Regions from separate parts of the Homo sapiens genome. Here region 1 is linked to region 2. The links are contacts of gene promoters, found by promoter capture Hi-C in blood cells and fetal thymus (Javierre and others, 2016). All regions are on one chromosome and are shown on one strand. The core of a region is centred on a gene start or on the middle of the fragment in contact, and the rest is flanking DNA. Distances in the headings are between cores, read along the strand shown. Region 1 overlaps ARMH4 (armadillo like helical domain containing 4). Region 2 holds the start of TOMM20L (translocase of outer mitochondrial membrane 20 like).

What was found. The method cuts DNA at HindIII sites, captures the fragments that hold promoters and counts their contacts. A CHiCAGO score of 5 or more calls a contact.
Region 1: a fragment that was not itself captured here is called in contact with the fragment with the promoter of TOMM20L in region 2 in 2 of 17 cell types (total CD8 T cells and naive CD8 T cells); the score reaches 5.6 in total CD8 T cells.

What each region holds. Positions count from the first base shown.
Region 1 is chr14:58,094,042-58,098,691 of GRCh38, forward strand. ARMH4 (armadillo like helical domain containing 4) reads right to left here. Exons shown (of 8, transcript NM_001001872.4): 5 at 2,683-2,940. Among named protein-coding and RNA genes, the nearest start is that of ARMH4, 56 kb to the right of the region's middle. The HindIII fragment of the contact is 3,626 bases long and covers 870-4,495 here.
Region 2 is chr14:58,394,420-58,399,520 of GRCh38, forward strand. It overlaps TOMM20L (translocase of outer mitochondrial membrane 20 like), which reads left to right and starts at 1,511. Exons shown (of 5, transcript NM_207377.3): 1 at 1,511-1,674; 2 at 1,879-1,922. The coding sequence starts at 1,539. It overlaps TOMM20L-DT (TOMM20L divergent transcript), which reads right to left and starts at 1,286. Exons shown (of 2, transcript NR_187161.1): 1 at 882-1,286. RefSeq lists silencers at 1,319-1,838, 1,909-1,958. The HindIII fragment of the contact is 7,740 bases long and covers 1-5,101 here.

The DNA of each region.
Region 1 (4,650 bases), core at 1,433-3,932, 300 kb before region 2:
AGCTGTGGCTGGGCACGGTGGGTCATGCCTGTAACCCCAGCACTTTGGGAGGCCACGGCGGGCAGATCACCTAAGGTCAGGAGTTTGAGACCAGCCTAGCCAATATGGTGAAACCCTGTCTCTACTAAAAATACAAAAATTAGCTGGGCATGGGAGTGGGTACCTGTAGTCCCAGCTGCTCAGGAGGCTGAGGCAGGAGAATTGTTTGAACCCGGGAGGCAGAATTTGCAGTGAGTCGAGATCGCCCCACTACACTCCAGCCTGAGCAACAGAGTGAGACGCTTTCTCAAAAAAAAAAAAAAAGAACTTTAGCTGTGCAAGGGGACTGAAATCAGGAGTCAGAACAGGAGGACAACAGAGCTTTTTGTCCTAAGCCTCAAGCCTGACAAGCCTTAAAATTTAACTGCTATTAGCCAAAACAGGGAACAACTCAGTTGTTCATCAACAGGTGACTAGATGAGCAAAACATGGTATATCCATACAATTGAATACTAGTCAGCTATATATATGTGTGTGGATGTGTATGTGAGTGTGTGCATGTGTGTACATGTGTGTATGTTATATATAACAAAGAACAAACTACTGATACATACAACATAGTTGAATCTCAAAATCTTTATGCTAAGTGATCTAAGCCAGACACAAAATGGTATATACCATATGATGTCATTTGTACAAAATTCTAGAAAATGCAAACTAATCTATAGTGACCAAAGGCCAGTGGTTATCTGGGGTTGAGGACTGGAGGAGGGATGCACTGCAAAGGGGCATGAGGAATCACTGGTGGTGGGATGATGGAAATGCTCTGCGGCATGATTGTGATGGGGGTTGCATGGGTGTATACAACTCTCAAAACTCATCAAATCATAAGCTTTCAGTGGGTGCAATTGTGTATAATACATACCTCAGTAAAGCTGATTCCTTAAAAACTTGACTCCTATTCAGTGGTAAATTTGCATTGAGGAGCATGATAATACCACAGCCCAAATGATCATTTTAGCCTTGATTCAGAGCCTCCTTATAGTTTTCTAAGACCCTCTAATTACTTATAATTACTCAAAGATGGTAAGTCCACTTCATAAGTGGTGAGACTTCATTTCTTTGATCACAATCCAGGGTAGATGCCATATGATGTTCCTAATTCTGTGCTAAGGCAACCCTGTCTCCCTCGCTCCTCTCTCCGGTAAAGTACTAGAGCATCCGAATATCATCCCATCCATACTGAAAGGCTGTTTAACTGTACATGATACCTCCATAGTATAAAGCTGTGCACAACCCGAGGAGTCACTTTACGTGTAGATTTGTGTCTGTTTTTAACCTGTTCGGTATAAATTATCTTTGTATTTTGTATCTTATTTCATTCATTTCAAACCTGTTCATGTAGAACAGAAGCATTTCAGACTAAATATTCATTCACTTGTTCACAGACCAGAGATAATCTTATTTTGTGTTTGTTTTATAGTATTTTGATATTATAATGTTTTGATACCCTTATAAGTTTTTACCAGTTTCATGTGACATGTTTTTAAAGTAATCATTGCCCAATGCATGCTGAATTTGGCCAGAAAGTAATTCAAGAAATCTTGTCTGTCCACTGGAAGCCCATCCCTTACTATCTTCTCTCCTTCCTATAGCATATTACACAGGAAATCCCAGCTACATGTCAACTACAACCTGTATGCCAATCTATAGAGTGCAACTCCCAGAATTACATCCAGAGCAAAGGCCCAGACCAACTTACAAGTTTTCAATGACATATCCCCAAAACTAGTATTTGTACCAGTTTTTCTGACTCTTAACCCTAACATCTGCCACACTGAAGGAATCAATGGGCCTAGCTGTTAAAGACTAGGAGCATTTTAGAGAAGAGTTTCCTTGGAGAAGAGATTAATTCACCTCAGGTCAAGGGAATAGGGCCTCAAGGAGTCACTGAGAGCTTAATAGCGTCTCCCCTGACAAGAGGAGAGGGACAGACTGGGGAGCTTCCCTGTCGATGTGGAAGGAAGTGCTGAGCTGAGGAGCGGCCTGCATCCTCCAAGTCTCTCACCACAAGCACGGGCCATGAATAAGAGAGAGTGAGCATGGAGTGGTCTGGCCACCCTAGCTGCTGAAATGAAATCGTGTTTGACAAGGTAATGCAGCCACAAGTCTGAACAGAAAAATCATGGGACTGCCCAACTGCTCACCCACAAGCAGGGGAAGAACTTCCCCTAGGTAATAGATTCCCAAAGGACAGAGCGGAACAAAAAATGCATTTGTTCTTCGACTCTGTCCCATGGTGCTGCTTGTCCAACATCCTGGTTACACGTATCTCCTCCCTGTGCGGATGTCCTCCTAAAGCCTACAACTGTCTCCCAACTGGGAAGGAAAAACTGAATTTCTTCCAAACATCAGGCAACTGTACTCATAATAGGCAGCTGGAGACTGTTTGGAGCCTGGCTACTTAAGGGCATAAATATAAACTCATCGAAGAAATAAGTGATCATTTTTAATTTTTAATTATCAGTTATTTCTTCGGTGAGTTTATACTTATATTCTTAACCACCCATAAATGTAGAAACCACCCATAAACAAAGAAAATCCATTTTTCTTTACAATAGATGGCAATGAAAGAAGGCTGTCATCTGAGAAATATAAAAGGAGGGGAGAAGGGAGGAAAAGGGAAATACACATGACTCTTACCCAGGCCTTGATTCTGCTGTTCCCACTCGAGGGCATCTGGCACCTGGTAGGTAGCTCCCTCCAACAGGTCCATGTTTCCCTCCTCTAAGCCTGGTTCCTGGGATGTGATACCAGGGAGGGTAAAACCTGGCAGCTCAGTGTCACCATCCAAGCCCTCATCCAGCGAGTCTGCATCTTTATCTTCCTCATCTTCTTCCTCATCTTCCTCTTCTTCATCTTCATCTTCTTCATCCTCTTCATCCTCATCTTCTTGTCCCTCTAGGCAAAAAGAAATCAAAGGGAAGCATAAACATATAATGAGTTTATGCTGAAACAAATGAATCCTTGGAAATGATCCAAACACTACAAAATAATTGTTTGGCCTTTTGAAACACATCTTTATAGCCAAAGTCAGACAATGTGAACTTTGCAGGATTATACACCCACCATATGTCCTAGAGTTTAAACTTTCAAAACCATAGTTATGTCAGATAAGTATCAGGTATTATGTTTACTGGGAGTCAAAGTTCAAGTAATATGATTTGTTATTAAAGTTATTTATATTTACAAGGGTAGTAAACATCCCCTTGCTGTTTTCTGGAGATCATTAAAAGTTTATCAGTTAGCACACTGTGAAATACTAACAGAACTTAAAAGAAGCTGTTCCCATCCCTTTATAGCTCATAATGTTAAAGGAGACAATTCATTATTTTGGCACAGCTTTTTCTATTCATCCACATCAGTGAGTAGAACTCACAAAAATGGTAAGTGAGGAGCACATAAATTCACTCTTGGATCTTGTTCTCTCTAAGGAAGAGTAATCCAAGAAACTGGAAATAATTGCATCAACATTCTCAATCCAACTCTAAAGGAATTGGGAAGTGGGATATTCACCAGGAGTGGTCAGAAAGGCAGCACATTAAAAATTACCATTATCTTCATTGTAAGAGTTAACATTCACAATTCGTCGTTTTCTTGATTTTTTTTTTTTTATTTTTTATTTATTTATTTATTTATTTTTGAGACGGAGTCTTGCTCTGTCACCCAGGCTGGAGTGCAGTGGCGTGATCATGGTTCACCACAGTCTCAGACTCCTGGACTCAAGCCATCCTCCTCCCTCGGCCTCCCACAATGCTAGTATTATAGGCGTGAGCCATGGCACTTCACCACAAGCTGTCATTTTCAATGCTCCAAGTGGAGTGGGTTTAAGGAACATATGATTCCCAATTTCATTTTGTTTCACCAATGTTAATTTCCTAGTAATACTTCAAGGCCCCATCCTCACCATGGATGCACCTCTGAAGCCCCTGGTAAGTGCCCACAAAGTTCACAGAAGGCCTTCCCTTTGCTCTCTCCCCTTGACTCTCGGCACAGCAGTTACTGCAACAGGTAATTCTCCTCCTATGGTGGAGAAAAGAAGGGAAGAAGAAGAACTGGAGCCACCCAAGAATTGTGAGACTCTCCTTTTCTGCTTCTACACAACTTTCTCCACCCATACTACCTTTCCTCTATCATTCAGAGGCTTTTTAACTTTTAAAAAAAATCACCTTTAATCTTTTTTTATTCTTATATGTCCTTTAACTTTGTAGGATTAATGTCTGTCACTATTCTAAAAATTCAACAAATATGTATCAACCCCCTAACGGGTGCCGTTGCAGACACTAGGGATAAAAGCAATAACGTCTCTGCCTTCGTGGAGCCCATGTGCCACCCAGGGAGACTCACAGCAAACAAACAGATACACCAATAGGCAGGTGACTCTACACTCTCATTAAAACTGGCAAGAAGATAGAAAACGCCAGGCACTGCTATTTTAGAAAGGGTGATTAAAGAAAGCTTTTCTGACAAGGTAAAGTTTGAACAGAGGCCACACCAAAATAATGCATTCTTTTGTTTAATTTAAGTCAACATCTACAGGAAGAGCATTCCCAGTGGAGGAAATGGCAAGGACCTAATCCTTGAGGCAGGTGTGGCCTCGCTGTGTTCAAA
Region 2 (5,101 bases), core at 261-2,760:
CATGTTGGCCAGGCTGGTCTCAAACTCCTGACCTCAGGTGATCCACCCACCTCGGTCTCCCAGTGCTGGAATTACAGGCGTGAGCCAACACGCCCAGCCACCTATGTATTTTTATAGAGACAGGGTCTCATTCTGTCACCCAGGCAGGAGTGCAGTGGCAGTGATCAGAGCTCACTGCAGCCTCCAACTCCTAGGCTCAAGTGATCCCTGCAGAGTAGCTAGGGCTACAGGTGCACACCACGACCAGTATTTTTTTGTTTTGTTTTATCGAGACGGAGTCTTGCTCTGTTGCCCATGCTGGAGTACAGTGACACAATCTCAGCTCACTGCAACCTCCGCCTCCCGGATTCAAGCAGTTCTCCTGTCTCAGCCTCCCAAGTAACGGATTACAGGCACATGCCACCACACCCAGCTAATTTTTGTATTCTTAGTAGAGACAGTGTTTCACCATGTTGGCCAGGCTGGTCTCGAACTCTTGACCTTGTGATCTGCCTGCCTCGGCCTCCCAAAGTGCTGGGATTACAGGCATGAGCCATTGTGCCCGGCCCTTGTTTTGTTTTTTTAGAGATGGGTTCTTGCAATGTTGCCCAGGCTGGTTGGTCTCCAAGTCCTGAGCTCAAGTGATCCTCCCACCTCAGCCTCCCAAAGTGTTGGGATTTCAGTTGTGAGCCACTGCACCTAGCTAGACCCACTGGTATTCAGAGCAGTGATGAGCACCTTGCTATGCACACACTAGTAATAACAGTAAATTGTAAATCAGTAAATAGCAATTGTATAACCTAAATAAAAATGAATTATCTAGTTCTTTAGGTCCCTAGCTTATGCCTTTTCTCCTCCTTAGTAGAAAAGTCAGAACTCTGGTATTTAGGACAAAGTCTTACCTTCTTTCTTTCTGCTGTGTCCGCTGAGTAAGGCAAATATTAGAAAAGCAGCTAGGCCAGTATCATGGGACTCTCAGTTGTTTTTGCTTTGGGACCTTTGACTGTCAGTCTCAGCCCAGCAATTTAACGTATTTTTCTAGATTAAACAGTGTTGCTTCTGAATTCCTCCCTTGGACCTTGGACTGCTGGGTCCTTTCAGGAGACAAAGGATACCAGATTGGGGAGTACGGGCTACTGTTAGACAATGTGAACTAGGAGGTGACCAAAGTTGACCTTAGAGTCAACTTAATTTTGCAGGTGAGGGAACAGAGACCTAAACGACCACTGGCTCCCAGTAAAGCAGATTCGCAGCATACTGTGCTTTGCCTGAATGGGTGTTGTAGACACAGGGGCAGAGGCGTGTTTGGAGAAAGGGTTCAGAATTTGGAGTGCGACAGACGTAGGTTCGAACAGAGCTCTGCTACTCTGTGGCTGTGAGGGCTCCCGCACACACCCTCTCGAACGCTCGGCTTCCTCATCGGTCCGCAAGCCTGGGTGCGAGGCGTCAACGCGCAGCTGGGTGCGCAGGAGGCCCCGAGGCCGGATGGGCCGCCGCGCCGACGCCCCCTGCCGGCCGGCCCGCGCCCAACGCTCGGCTTGTGGGACGCCCGCGGTCGGATGCCCTCCGTCCGCTCCCTCCTCCGCCTCTTGGCCGCCGCGGCGGCCTGTGGCGCCTTCGCCTTCCTGGGCTATTGTATTTACCTCAACCGGAAGCGGCGCGGGGACCCCGCGTTCAAGCGCCGCCTGCGGGACAGTGAGTGGGACCGAGGCGGAGGCGCGGCCGGGCCGGGCAGCGCGGGCGGGCTGCCGGCCGGGAGGGCCCCCCACTGAGAGGCCGGGCCGTGAGTGCCTCAGCCTCTGCCGAGGGGCCCGCGGCGCCCGGGCAGGCAGGACCACTGGGCCCACGCGTGCCTCTGGACGGGCCTCCCAGCCAGCATGTGCCGTGTTGTGTTCGCAGAAAGAAGAGCAGAGCCTCAAAAGGCTGAGGAGCAGGGCACGCAGGTGCAGTGCTTTCGATCCGCACAGGTAGCTCAGTAGACGCAGGTCCGGGCTCGCTGGGTTGCTTGGCTCCTGGCGGGCTCGGCAGCAGGTAGTTAGTTCCCTCAGCCGCCCGTGCCCGGGAAGAGGCCTGCCCTCGCGCGCCACGCACCGCCTCAGGCCCAGTCACTCTCCTCTCACAAAAGGGAGGGAAGGAAGGAGGAAGAAGTTGGAGTTATAAAAAGGCAGCTGCAAAGCAAAACACTGTACAACAGGCACTTCTTTTAACTGGAAGAAGGAAGAGGAGCCTTTTGCCCTGTCAGAGCCGCACAGGACACTTAAAAACCCAGGCTGGCCACGGTCACATGGCAGTAACTTCTAGATTGTTCTCCCGCAGGGCCTTTCTTGTAGCTCAGAAGCAGAAGGCATCTTCGTGTTTTGTAAATCTCTGCGGCAAAATTTGATTAGTCCCTTTTTTGTTGTTTTTAAGAGGCGGGCCGGGCTTGGTGGCTCACGCCTGTAATCCCAGCACTTTGGGAGGCAAGGCGGGCAGATCACGTGAGGTCAGGAGTTTGAGACCAGCCTGGCCAACATGGTGAAAGCCTGTCTCTACTAAAAATACAAAAATTAGCCGGGAGTGGTGGCGTGTGCCTGTAGTCTCAGCTACTTGGGAGACTGAGGCAGGAGAATTGCTTGAGTCCGGGAGGTGGCAGTTGCAGCCTGGGCGACAGAGCAAGACACTGTCTATAAAAAAAGAAAGAGACAAGGGTGTTCCTATGTTGCCCAGGCTGAACTAGAACTCCTGGCCACAAGCAATCCGCAGTTGATGCTGGATGTTTACTTAGCTGAGATTGTTAGCCAGAGCACCTACACGTCTGTGTGATCTGGGATTCTTCATTTGTGTGATGGGCTGTGTCCCAAGGGACAAGCAAACACATATATGTATGTGTGTATATATATGTGTGTGTGTGTGTGTCTGTGTATAGAGAGAGCACGCACATGCATGTGAACTAGAACATGTGCCCATGTGGAAGAGCAGATGGTACCACTTCTGGCAACATTGAAGCCTACTCAATTTAAAGGGAGAGGAAATAGATTCTACCTCTCAACAGGGATGGCAAGGTTTTGAAAGCACTTGTGTGACCGGGAATATTGCGGTAGCCATTTTTGAAACATGCAGTTTTTCCGGAGAAGACTTTGTAGCGGAAGTGGCATTGAACTGAGCCTGGAAGGATGATGAATTTGTGGCTTGGTTTCAGGGGAGAGGATACAGGATGGAGGGAACAGCATGTGCATAAAGATGCAAAGTGGGGCATCTGCCAAGCACATTCAGTAAACCAGTTTGGCAAAGGAGTCATACTGAGGAATAGTGGGTGGTAAGGTTGGAGAGCGAAAGTAGGATTGAATTAGGGAAGGCTTGCTTTGAAGGCCAGGTTAAGGAACTGAGATTCAATGGAGGAATTACTGAAGATTTCTAAGCAGGAATTTTTTAAAAAGAAGGAAAGAAAGGCAGAAGAGAAATATTCTTAGATTGATCAAGCAGGAGTGTACTTAATGGATTGGAAAAGAAAACAAGCTATTGCAGCAATTTAGTTGAGAGGTAATAAAAATCCTGAACTATGGTGGTGGTAGTGGTAACTGGGAAGAATACAGTTCATGCCGACTGAGTAAAGGGTAATGGAGAGGCGGAGTCAAAGACACTTCCGGGGTTTCAAAATGGAATCACAGTAGAGAATAAAAGCCCATTTGACATAGTTAGCTGGGTAGGGAGTGTCCAAAGAGCTGGACATGGGAGTGGAGATACCTTCCCTGACTTGACTGAGACAGAGCCTGATACAGCTCCATGTCCCTCGTCATTGTCCATGGTTTCACTTGCACATTTGTGTAATTATTTGATTAATGCTTTCCGTTTATTACACTAAGCTGTGTGAGGGCAGACTTTGTTTTTTACTCTCCATTGTTTCCAGTGCCTAGAACAGAGTCTAGTGCGGTAGGTGCCCAGCAAATGTTTGTTGAATATTGTTGTTCATTGTAGGCAGAGGGAAACACCTTGTGCAGAGGCACAGAACATGAAATTGTAATGTTCAAGGAGTATTATGGCCAGAGAGATAGCTGAGGGTCAGTTTAGTGTCTTACCGTGGAGGACTTTGAATGCCAAACTGAAAAGTCAGGACATTTTTCTGTTGTGGTGGATAACTAATGATGGTGACTTTATTTCAGAGAACAGACACAATTATTTTGGTTTTATTTTTTAAATAAGACAATTCTGGTTCCAGTGTGGAGAAAGGAAGTTGAAGACAAGAAAATCAGTCAATGGCAGTTCATATGGGAAATAATAAATGATTTATATTAATATAAATTAATCATATTTTAATTATAATATAATCTAATTATATTCATATTAAGCCATAACTAAGTCACACTATCATTTATTGATATAAATCAATAATTATTAATAATAAATTGTTAATATTATTTCCCATATATGAAATAATAAATTATTTCAAGTGAAGAAGCAGCACAAGCAGGATTTTCAAATGTCCTTTCATATAATTGTCACAACTCTATTCTAATTTTTTTTTTTTTGACACAGGGTCTCACTCTGTTGCCCAGGCTGGAGTACAGTGGCAATGATCACAGCTCACTGCAGCCTCAACCCTTTTGGGGTTAGGTGATTCTCCCACCTCAGTCTCCTAAATAGCTGGGACTACAGGTGCATACCACCATGCCTGGCTAGTTTTTGTACTTTTACAGAGATGGGTTTCGCAACATTGCCCAGGCTGGTCTTGAACTCCTGAGCTCAAGCAGTCTGCCGGCCTTGGCCTCCTGAAGTGTTGGGATTACACGAGGGAGCCACTGTGCCTGGCCTCTATTCTCATTTTACACATGAATAAACCAAAGCAGATAAAGAGTCTCTTCTCACTTTTTCTAGGGTCTTTCTTCCTCTTCTTCCCAGGACTTTCCCAAAGTATGGTCCATTGCTGCATTACATTTACCTGGAGCATCTGTTAAAATATGGATTATTTGACCCTGATCCCAGCAATTCTGATCCAGTAGCCTGGGGAATTCTTACTGGCACAGTGACTGTCAGACTTTAGGATCCATAAGAATCACCTGAAGAGTTTGTTTAAAAATGCAAATTCCTGGGCCCTACTCCCAGAGATTGATTCAGTAGGTCTGGGTGGAGTCCAAGAAACTGCAGT